Regions from separate parts of the Homo sapiens genome. Here all the other regions are linked to region 3. Evidence: promoter capture Hi-C in 16 types of primary human blood cells and fetal thymus (Javierre and others, 2016). All regions are on one chromosome and are shown on one strand. The core of a region is centred on a gene start or on the middle of the fragment in contact, and the rest is flanking DNA. Distances in the headings are between cores, read along the strand shown. Region 1 overlaps SLC35D2 (solute carrier family 35 member D2). Region 2 overlaps SLC35D2 (solute carrier family 35 member D2). Region 3 holds the start of CDC14B (cell division cycle 14B).

What was found. The method cuts DNA at HindIII sites, captures the fragments that hold promoters and counts their contacts. A CHiCAGO score of 5 or more calls a contact.
Region 1: a contact is called between a fragment that was not itself captured here and the fragment with the promoter of CDC14B in region 3, in 9 of 17 cell types (activated CD4 T cells, naive CD4 T cells, total CD8 T cells and 6 more). The highest score is 7.1, in activated CD4 T cells.
Region 2: a fragment that was not itself captured here is called in contact with the fragment with the promoter of CDC14B in region 3 in 1 of 17 cell types (naive CD8 T cells); the score reaches 6.9 in naive CD8 T cells.

The regions. Positions count from the first base shown.
Region 1 is chr9:96,326,368-96,329,067 of GRCh38, forward strand. All of the region lies in intron 9 of SLC35D2 (solute carrier family 35 member D2), which reads right to left. The region is part of intron 9 of SLC35D2-HSD17B3 (SLC35D2-HSD17B3 readthrough); the gene reads right to left. Among named protein-coding and RNA genes, the nearest start is that of HSD17B3, 26 kb to the left of the region's middle. The HindIII fragment of the contact is 3,533 bases long and covers 1-2,700 here.
Region 2 is chr9:96,349,872-96,352,571 of GRCh38, forward strand. SLC35D2 (solute carrier family 35 member D2) reads right to left here. Exons shown (of 12, transcript NM_007001.3): 5 at 2,167-2,238; 6 at 1,232-1,300. SLC35D2-HSD17B3 (SLC35D2-HSD17B3 readthrough) reads right to left here. Exons shown (of 26, transcript NR_182427.1): 5 at 2,167-2,238; 6 at 1,232-1,300. Among named protein-coding and RNA genes, the nearest start is that of SLC35D2, 32 kb to the right of the region's middle. The HindIII fragment of the contact is 1,789 bases long and covers 533-2,321 here.
Region 3 is chr9:96,618,479-96,621,178 of GRCh38, forward strand. It overlaps CDC14B (cell division cycle 14B), which reads right to left and starts at 1,365. Exons shown (of 14, transcript NM_033331.4): 1 at 741-1,365. The coding sequence starts at 900. RefSeq lists an enhancer at 516-1,016. The HindIII fragment of the contact is 24,798 bases long and covers 1-2,700 here.

The sequences.
Region 1 (2,700 bases), core at 106-2,605, 290 kb before region 3:
GTTTAGGGGATTTTAATCAGCTAAACTTGAGTTAATAAGCCATTTATCAAATAATGAAAGTAAATGTTCTTTTATAGAAAAATTGTTAGCCTTCTAAATAAGGCAATAATATTTGTAAGTTGAACTTTAAGGCTTAAGAAAAAATCTAAGTTTCGGCCAGGTGTGGTGGCTCACGCCTGTAATCCCAGCAGTTTGGGAGGCCAAGGCAGGCAGATCACAAGGTCAGGAGATTGAGACCATCCTGGCCAACATGGTGAAACCCTGTCTCTAATAAAAATACAAAAAAAATTAGCCAGGCATGGTGGCATGCGCCTGTAATCCCAGCTACTCGGAGGCGCTGAGGCAGGAGAATTGCTTGAGCCTGAGAGGCGGAGGTTGCAGTGAGCCGGGATCGCACCACTGCACTTTAGCCTGGGCAACAGAGCGAGACTCTGTCTCAAAAAAAAAAAAAAAAGAAAATCCAAGTTTCTCAAATTGTTATAATTTTAATAAATCTAACATTAATTTAGATTCCCAGGAGCTATAAATAATCCTATTTATCCATACAATGAAAAAATTAAAAAACTCAAACTGATGCCACTGAGTGCCTGCTCTGCCAGGCCCTGGCTGTCAGAGGGGACCATCCCATCCACAGCACCTGCCCCGGAGCCACTCAGACCCAGATCAGAGGAGAGAGCTGCACAGCAGCGGGAGCACAGCACAGGGCCCAGCCCAACGCAGGGGCAGAGAGGAGCTTCCTGCAGGCCGCCTATGCACCAGCACAGCCTTAAACCAAGGACAGCATGGATGTTCTTTATTTCCACTTTTGCTTTAAAATTCCAACTCCAGGGTTCCAATCATGCAACATTTTCTCCATCCTCCATTTTTCTTTTCTTAAAAAAGGGTTGGGGGGAACCTCATCTCTTGACAAGATCTGGCTATATTACCCAGGCGGGACATGAATGCCTGGGTTCAAGTGATCCTCCCGCCTGTCTTCCAAGTAGCTGGGACTACAGATGTGTGTCGTCACACCCAGCTCCATCTTAGTGAAACCACCTCAGCCTGCATTCAGAATCAGAAGACATCATGGATCTAAGATCCCAGCACCCATCCATCATGAGTGTGGGTGACTAGGACATCACTCACCAGCTGGGCTGAGCCAAGGGAGGAGAATCCCTCCCTAACATTCTGGAGTGAGCCTCAGTGAGCAGCCATCCTCCTTAGCAACAGATGGCGGCTAGATAGAAGGGCTGCACTTCTTTTTTCTTTTTCTTTTTCTTTTTTTTTTTTTTAAAGATGGGGTCTCACTCTTTCGCCCAGGCTGGAGCGCAGTGGTGTGATCATGGTTCACTGCAGCCTCCACCTCCCAGGCTCAAGCAATCCTCCCACCTCAGCCTCTCAAGAAGCTGGGACTACAGGTACACATCACTAAACTTGGCTAATTTTTAAATTTTTTCTAGATACAGAGTCTTGCTATCTTGCCCAGGCTGATCTGGAACTCTGGGGCTCAAGCAATCCTCCCTCTCTGGCCTCCCAAAGTGCTGGGACTATAGGAATTAGTCACCACTCCCAGCTTGCACTTCTTAATATACCCACTAGATGTCCCCAGAGAGGGCAAATATAGAACCACCAGGCTCAAAGTAGCAGTATATTACATTTTTTAAAAGAATCTATTTCTATATGCAAAAAAAACTTGCATAGTTCTTTGGCCAAAACCAAGACTTTGAACTAAAAGAACCTTCGTTAACTCAGTACTCAGTGCAAGGGAAACCTCACCACTTTTATTACTGAAAATATCAACCTCCACATGACTAGCTTTGATTTTACTATCTGTAGATTAATAAAATACAAAGATATTTAAAAGTATTGCTGAATTCTTAGTAACCTTTTTTACCATTCTATATTTTTTAGATAGGGTCTCACTCTGTTGCTCAGGCTGGAGTACAGTGGCACAATCACAACTCACTGGGCTCACATGAGCCCAGCCTCCATCTTCTGGGCTCAGGTGGTCTTCCCACCTCAGCCTCCCAAAGTGCTGGGATTACAGGTGTGAGCCACCACGCCCAGCGTGCTCTGTATTTTGAAGTCATGATATTATCTGTGTACATTTGAAATATAACAGCACATACATCTGATGCACATTTATTCAGACAACAGAGGCCAGCTGAGTGTTCTGCTTCTAGGGCCCCCAGGGTGGAGGTGCCCAAGTAGAAACTCCTGGACCAGAGCCTCTGCTCAAAGCCTTCTTCTTCCTGTTCTAAAAACAGCACAAAAAGTAACTGCCTTACCCAACATTGTGGCAGTCACAAACAGAACTCAAATGACCTAGTTTATACCTTGTCACTGATTACCGTTCCCTGCCCCAACAAATATAGAAACTCAACAAACGTTCAAATATTCACAGGCCACTTTTGCATTCTTTCCACCATCCACAATGGTACCCAAGCACATCATTCTCTTATAATTCCAGATTTCAAAGAATTCCAAGGAACCCCATCCTCACCATCTCTAGGAAGAACTCACTCCTAAGAACTCACAGAGTGCCAGCCTGGACAACATGGTGAAACCCCGTCTCTACTAAAAATACAACAATTAGCTGGGCTTGGTGGCTGGAACCTATAATCTCAGCTACTCAGGAGGCTGAGGCAGGAGAATCGCTTGAACCCAGGAGGCGGAGGTTGCAGTGAGATGAAATCGCGTCACTGCATTCTAGCCTGGGCA
Region 2 (2,700 bases), core at 177-2,676, 270 kb before region 3:
GTCTCCCTTAGCCCCTGGAGCATCCTCCACAGAACTCCTCCCTCTTTAAACTACTTTACTTATAAAATTTCATTCCAAAAAAAGCCTGTCATGACTAGATGAGGCTCTGAGAACTGCTGTCTAATGGGTGCTGGCCCTATACCTGCGGTGTGAATTGGAGCACTGAGACCCCAGAGCCAGCTTTCAAGCAGTAAAACTCAGCCCCTGGCTAGGACTAGGGGAGAGAAAGGTACAGATGACACGTAAGTAATAAACCTTAGTCTACACAATGGACTAAATACATTTATAATGACAGTAAGCATGATTTGTTTTTCTTAGAGACAGGATCTTACTCTTTTGCTCAGGCTAGAATGCAGTGGTGCAATCATTGCTCACTGCAACCTCAAACTCCTGGGCCCAAGAGATCCTCTTTCCCCAGCCTCCTGAGTAGCTGAGACTCCAGGCACACACCACGACGCCAGGCTAATTTTCTTTCCTTTTTTTTTTTTTTTTTTTTTTTTTTTGTAGAAATAGGTTCTCACAATGTTTCCCAAGCTTATCTCAAACTCATGGGCTCAGGTGATATTCCCACCTAGGCTTCCTACAGTGCTGGGATTATAGGGGTGAGCCACCACACCCAGCCTGGAGCTAAGTTTTGAACCCAGGGATGTAACTATTCACATGCACTATCCACCATGCTATAGCAGAAATCTGAGCACCTGCCTGCCCACGAAGACTTGGAGTCCTCGTTATTCCTTTTGCAAAATAATTATTAAAGTAGTAGTCATGCACCAGTGTTGGCTCATATCCCAAACGTACAAATATATTTAGCATTCTACCATCGGAAACAGCAACTGCTAAGGTATCATGGAATAATAAAATAAATCAGCAGACAAAGGCTTTGTAAGTCTGTTATTATTAATCAAATGCCTAAGAACTTCTCAAGTAAAGTTGTTATAATGAAGACAAACATTCAGTAAGAAATGTAAACAGTTCACTGCTTTTTGTGAAGAAAAGCTATATTAATATCTTGCAATGCTCTCTTCATATATTCTCAGAAATTTTCTGGCCAATGTGGGACCCACTTTGACTTTCATAGGAACACATGGGGATTCCACTAACTTCAACAGATTTGTCTCTTGCCTGCTCAATTCAACAGCAGCCAGATGGAAAATGAAAAACTGAGGATGGGGCTGGGCCTATTGTCAAAGACACAAAGAAGTTATTGAGCAGAAACAGTCCAAAGTCTTACCCAGCTGCTATGAAAGCCCCGAGAATAATGGCAAAGACACTGAGGATGATGTTGAGTGAATACTGCTTCCTGTAATAAATACACAAATAAGAAAGGAAAGGGAGCAGAGAGGAAAACATTGAAATATGATTATATTTTTTAAACAAATTGAAAATAGACATCAGCATTTTTATAGCTAAAATCCAGCAGACAATGCTTGATGCAGAGAAAGCACTAAAAGTGTTTCTAAGTCAGACTAAATTTACATTATTTCTTAAGCAGTTTTCTTAATCTAATTACAAACTGATTTCTCTGTTCTCACTAGAGAGATACTGGGACAAAATACAGAAGCGCTCCTGCTGGTGGATCTAGTTTGCATGGACTGATAGTGAGTATTCAAAGATTATGATAAAATTCAATACAAGGGCTTAAAACACTGAACCACCAACCAAAATTCATTTCTAAATAATCCTCCCAGCAAAATCAAGAATCAACTTTTTGGATATCAGACTAAATATCCTTATGAAAAATTTTATACCAACAATATAAAAATTAATTTCTTCTGATATTATAATTACTGCGTCAGAATTGATATCCCTCATACCCTGCACAACTATCCTGTATGTATACATGGACAGTTTCCCTTCTGTATTCCAAAATTGGTTTATATTCCATCTGGCTCAGGAAACAGGTTTACATCCTTTTTGGAGTGTTTCTTTTACTTTCTTACGATTTTCTACCACAAACATGCATTATTTGTCTATGGTAAAATTACAACTTTTAAAAAATCCCTCATTAAGTTCTTAGGGAATCACAGAAGCACAAAACTACTTTTAAATGAATAAACCATTTGTCCTTAAATTATTGCAACTAGCAATGGCTACTAGAATTTGCTGGGTAAAAGAAATGCAGTGGGTGGGAGGCACACTGGAAGAATGGAGGAAAAACAAAATCACCCAAGTATGATGGTTTCCAGAAGTAAGGTAAGTGGAATGGTGAATTTCCTGAGCACGGTGAACATCGGTAGGCTGCCAGGAAAAGAGTGAAGCATGTCAGACACCAAGGGTTGGTTGATTGGTTTTATCTTTTACATGTTTTACATTTTTAATTAAGCTTACTAATTTTCCAAATCAATTTTCACATTTACCATTAACAAATCACATTAAATAATAAAAATAAATGGAGATTAAATAATTTCATACCACTTTCACTTAGCAATTTATTTACTTATTTTTTATTTATTTATTTATTTTTTTTGGAGACAGAGTCTCGCTGTGTTGCCCAGGCTGTAGTGCAGTGGTGCAATCTCGGCTCACTGTAACCTCTGCCTCCCGGGTTCAAGCGATTCTCCTGCCTCAGCCTCCCAAGTAGCTGAGATTACAGGCATGCGCCACAACACCCGGCTAATTTTTGTATTTTCAGAAGAGACAGAGTTTTGCCATGTTGGCCAGGCTGGTCTCAAACACCTGACCTAAGGTAATCTGCCCGCC
Region 3 (2,700 bases), core at 115-2,614:
AGGGCTGCTTGGCTACCTGCTCTGGCTGGCTGGGATTTCTCAAAAGTGACAACCCGGACATTCGTCTTGCCGGCTGGCTCGAATGCCACCAACGTGACACCTTCCTTCTCGAGGCCCCGGCGGGGAGCGGACCCCGGGAGGCGGAGGCGTTCGGGGGGCGCGCTAGGGGGCAGGGCGCGGGAGGCCCAGGAGAGGGGCTCGGGCTTACGCGCCGGACGGGCAACGCGGCGCCCAGGGTCCCAAGGCTACGGAGCAGCGGGGGTTTGGCCAACGCCAAAAAGGGGCAGCTCCCGTGCCAGGCGCGTTCAGCGCGCTCGGGGAATCCTCAGGGGCTGATTCAGAGGTTGTGACTCGCGCGAGGGCCAACCGGGCTCGCAATCCCTGAAGGCGGAATCCACAGGAACTCAGAAGCAGCCCGCGGGGAGGAGCTGCAGGTTCGAGGCGCCGGGCTGACGCCCGCAACTTAGAAAGGTGACCCTCGGTCCATCTTGCTGGTGGAGGAGGGTGCACAAGCTAAAGTTAAAGCTCGCAGCCCACGCAGCTAGAAACTCGGGGCGGGGGGCGCTCCTCAGGAGCCAGGCTCCTAAAGGGGGTGTGGCGGCCGGGGCGTTTAAGGGGGTGGGGGCGAAGGCATTTCGGCCCGGCCCCGGAGGCCCCGGGCAGCCCGGTGGGAGGTGGGCCAGGGCCCCGCGCCGGGTGCGGCCGTCCGGGGCCCTCCGCGCGCCCACTGGCCGGCTCACCGGTGATGTCCAGGTACACGTCGTCCTGGGGGTCCCGGCGGCGCGGGTCTTGCTGCGTGGAGCTGCGGATCTTCTTCACACCCGGCGAGGTCGACGAGCAGCGCCGCGAGCAGGGGGGCGCGGCGGCCCAGCTCGACCGCCGCTCGCTTTTCCGCTTCATGGAGGCGGCCGCGGCCCGTCAGGGGGCCACGACCATGGCCCCGCGCGCCCGCGCGCCCGCCGAGGCTCCCGCCAGCCCCGCGCGGGCGCTCGGGGCGGCGGGCGCAGAGCGGCGCTGCGGGGACGGCGGGCGCCGGCAGAGCCCGGCGGGAGGCGGTCGCGCAGGAGCCGGAGGAGGAGCCCGGCCCACAGCGCCTGCCCCGCTGCCTCCCGCGGCCGCCGCAGGACCGGCGCCGCAGCCCTCGCTACAGCGCCTCCTGCCGCGGCCGGCGCCCCCAGCCCGCCCCCAGGTGCCCGCAGCCGGCTGGCGCGGCCGAGGCGACGGGGCTGCAGCTGGCGGCCGGAGCTGCCCGGGGTAACCGTGCGTGCCCACCGCGGCCGCGGCCGCTGCTGCGTAGGCGCCGGGGCACAGCAGGACGCGGCTCGTGGGGACCCCAGGAGGGCTGTTCCGTGGCGCTTCATTCACAAAAAAGGGCCCACAACCCTCCTCGGGGCCCGCAGACTGAGGCCTTTCATTGGCCAATGCGGCGTGACGTCACGGAGACGGGGCCTTTCTACAGGCAGGTACTCGGTGACGCCATAAAGAAAACTCTGAGGGCTTCCGCCAATCAGAGATAAAGTGTGCTAGCGACCTTCGCCAGCCCCCCAACTTTTGTTTCTTCTGTGTCCTCCAGGTGCCAGCACCCCAGATCCCAACTTTCTTTAGTGAGTCACCAAACATTTACACAGCCCCACCCTAGTAACTTAACTCCAGGTCTTTGGCATATATATATCTTAAAGTATTTCTTGAATTTCCTTGTAATTCGCGCCAAGAGAAAGGGACTTTTGCCATGGCTGCCAGCTTGGAAGAGGATGGCCTGATTACATTACCTGCAGCTATATAGATTTAAAGTAGAGTTGATTTCAGAACTTAAGTAAAACTATTTAAACAACTACGCTCTATTTATCGACCTATGCCCAGCATTCAAACAGGCCAAGCAAGGGCTTCTTAAGGACCCGATGAAACTTCCGTGGAACCACAATATACCGTGGTTGTTTGCACCTCAGAGTTTCTCATCTCGGAATCCAGCGCCCACATTAATTCAGTAAGTTTATACACTCATTGCTGTGTATACTGAGGTGTCGACAGGTCCGATTATATCATGAAGTATTGAAGCAAGGGGCAAGTTTTGTCCTTAAACTTCTTTATCTGGCACACTGTAGGGTCATATCCTCTTCTTTTTCTACTGGATTAAAATAATGCCCTATCTTCCTGGAACTTAACCAAAAACTGTCATTTTGGAGGGCCTTTAAACAAACGTCCATGGTAGCATCTAAAAGGGTGAGAAGATTGGAGGGCAGTGTTAAGATTTCACGGCCCCAAATTTTACAACATCTGCAAGCTGTCCCTATTTTTCACCAGCACTTGAACGTTTTATCCTGCAGTTCCGCAGTTAACTGCCAGCCTGGGGAAAAGAAAGATGAATTTGAGTCAGTCCCCTTGGAAGCCTCTCAGAAATGCAAATTTTCATAGAGCACCTCAGGAAGGGGCTCTTTGACTTCTATTGTTGTGGGCTTTTACCTTAAGCACGGCTAAATAAGGAAGTAGGGGGGCTGTGTCTGAAGCTAGAGATCAGCAACTCTGTAAGCACTTTTTCTTAAGGTTGGTTCTCCTGTTCACTCTTCCTCTGTTTCCCCTAAGGAAATCAGTGAAGGCCTTAAATTTAAAATGATCTACATGTCTGTCTGTAGGGGCAGCAAAGAAGCTAGAGACGTGGGAGGCTGTGCGGCGCTGCGCAAGTAAGTTTTAGAGAGCAGAAAC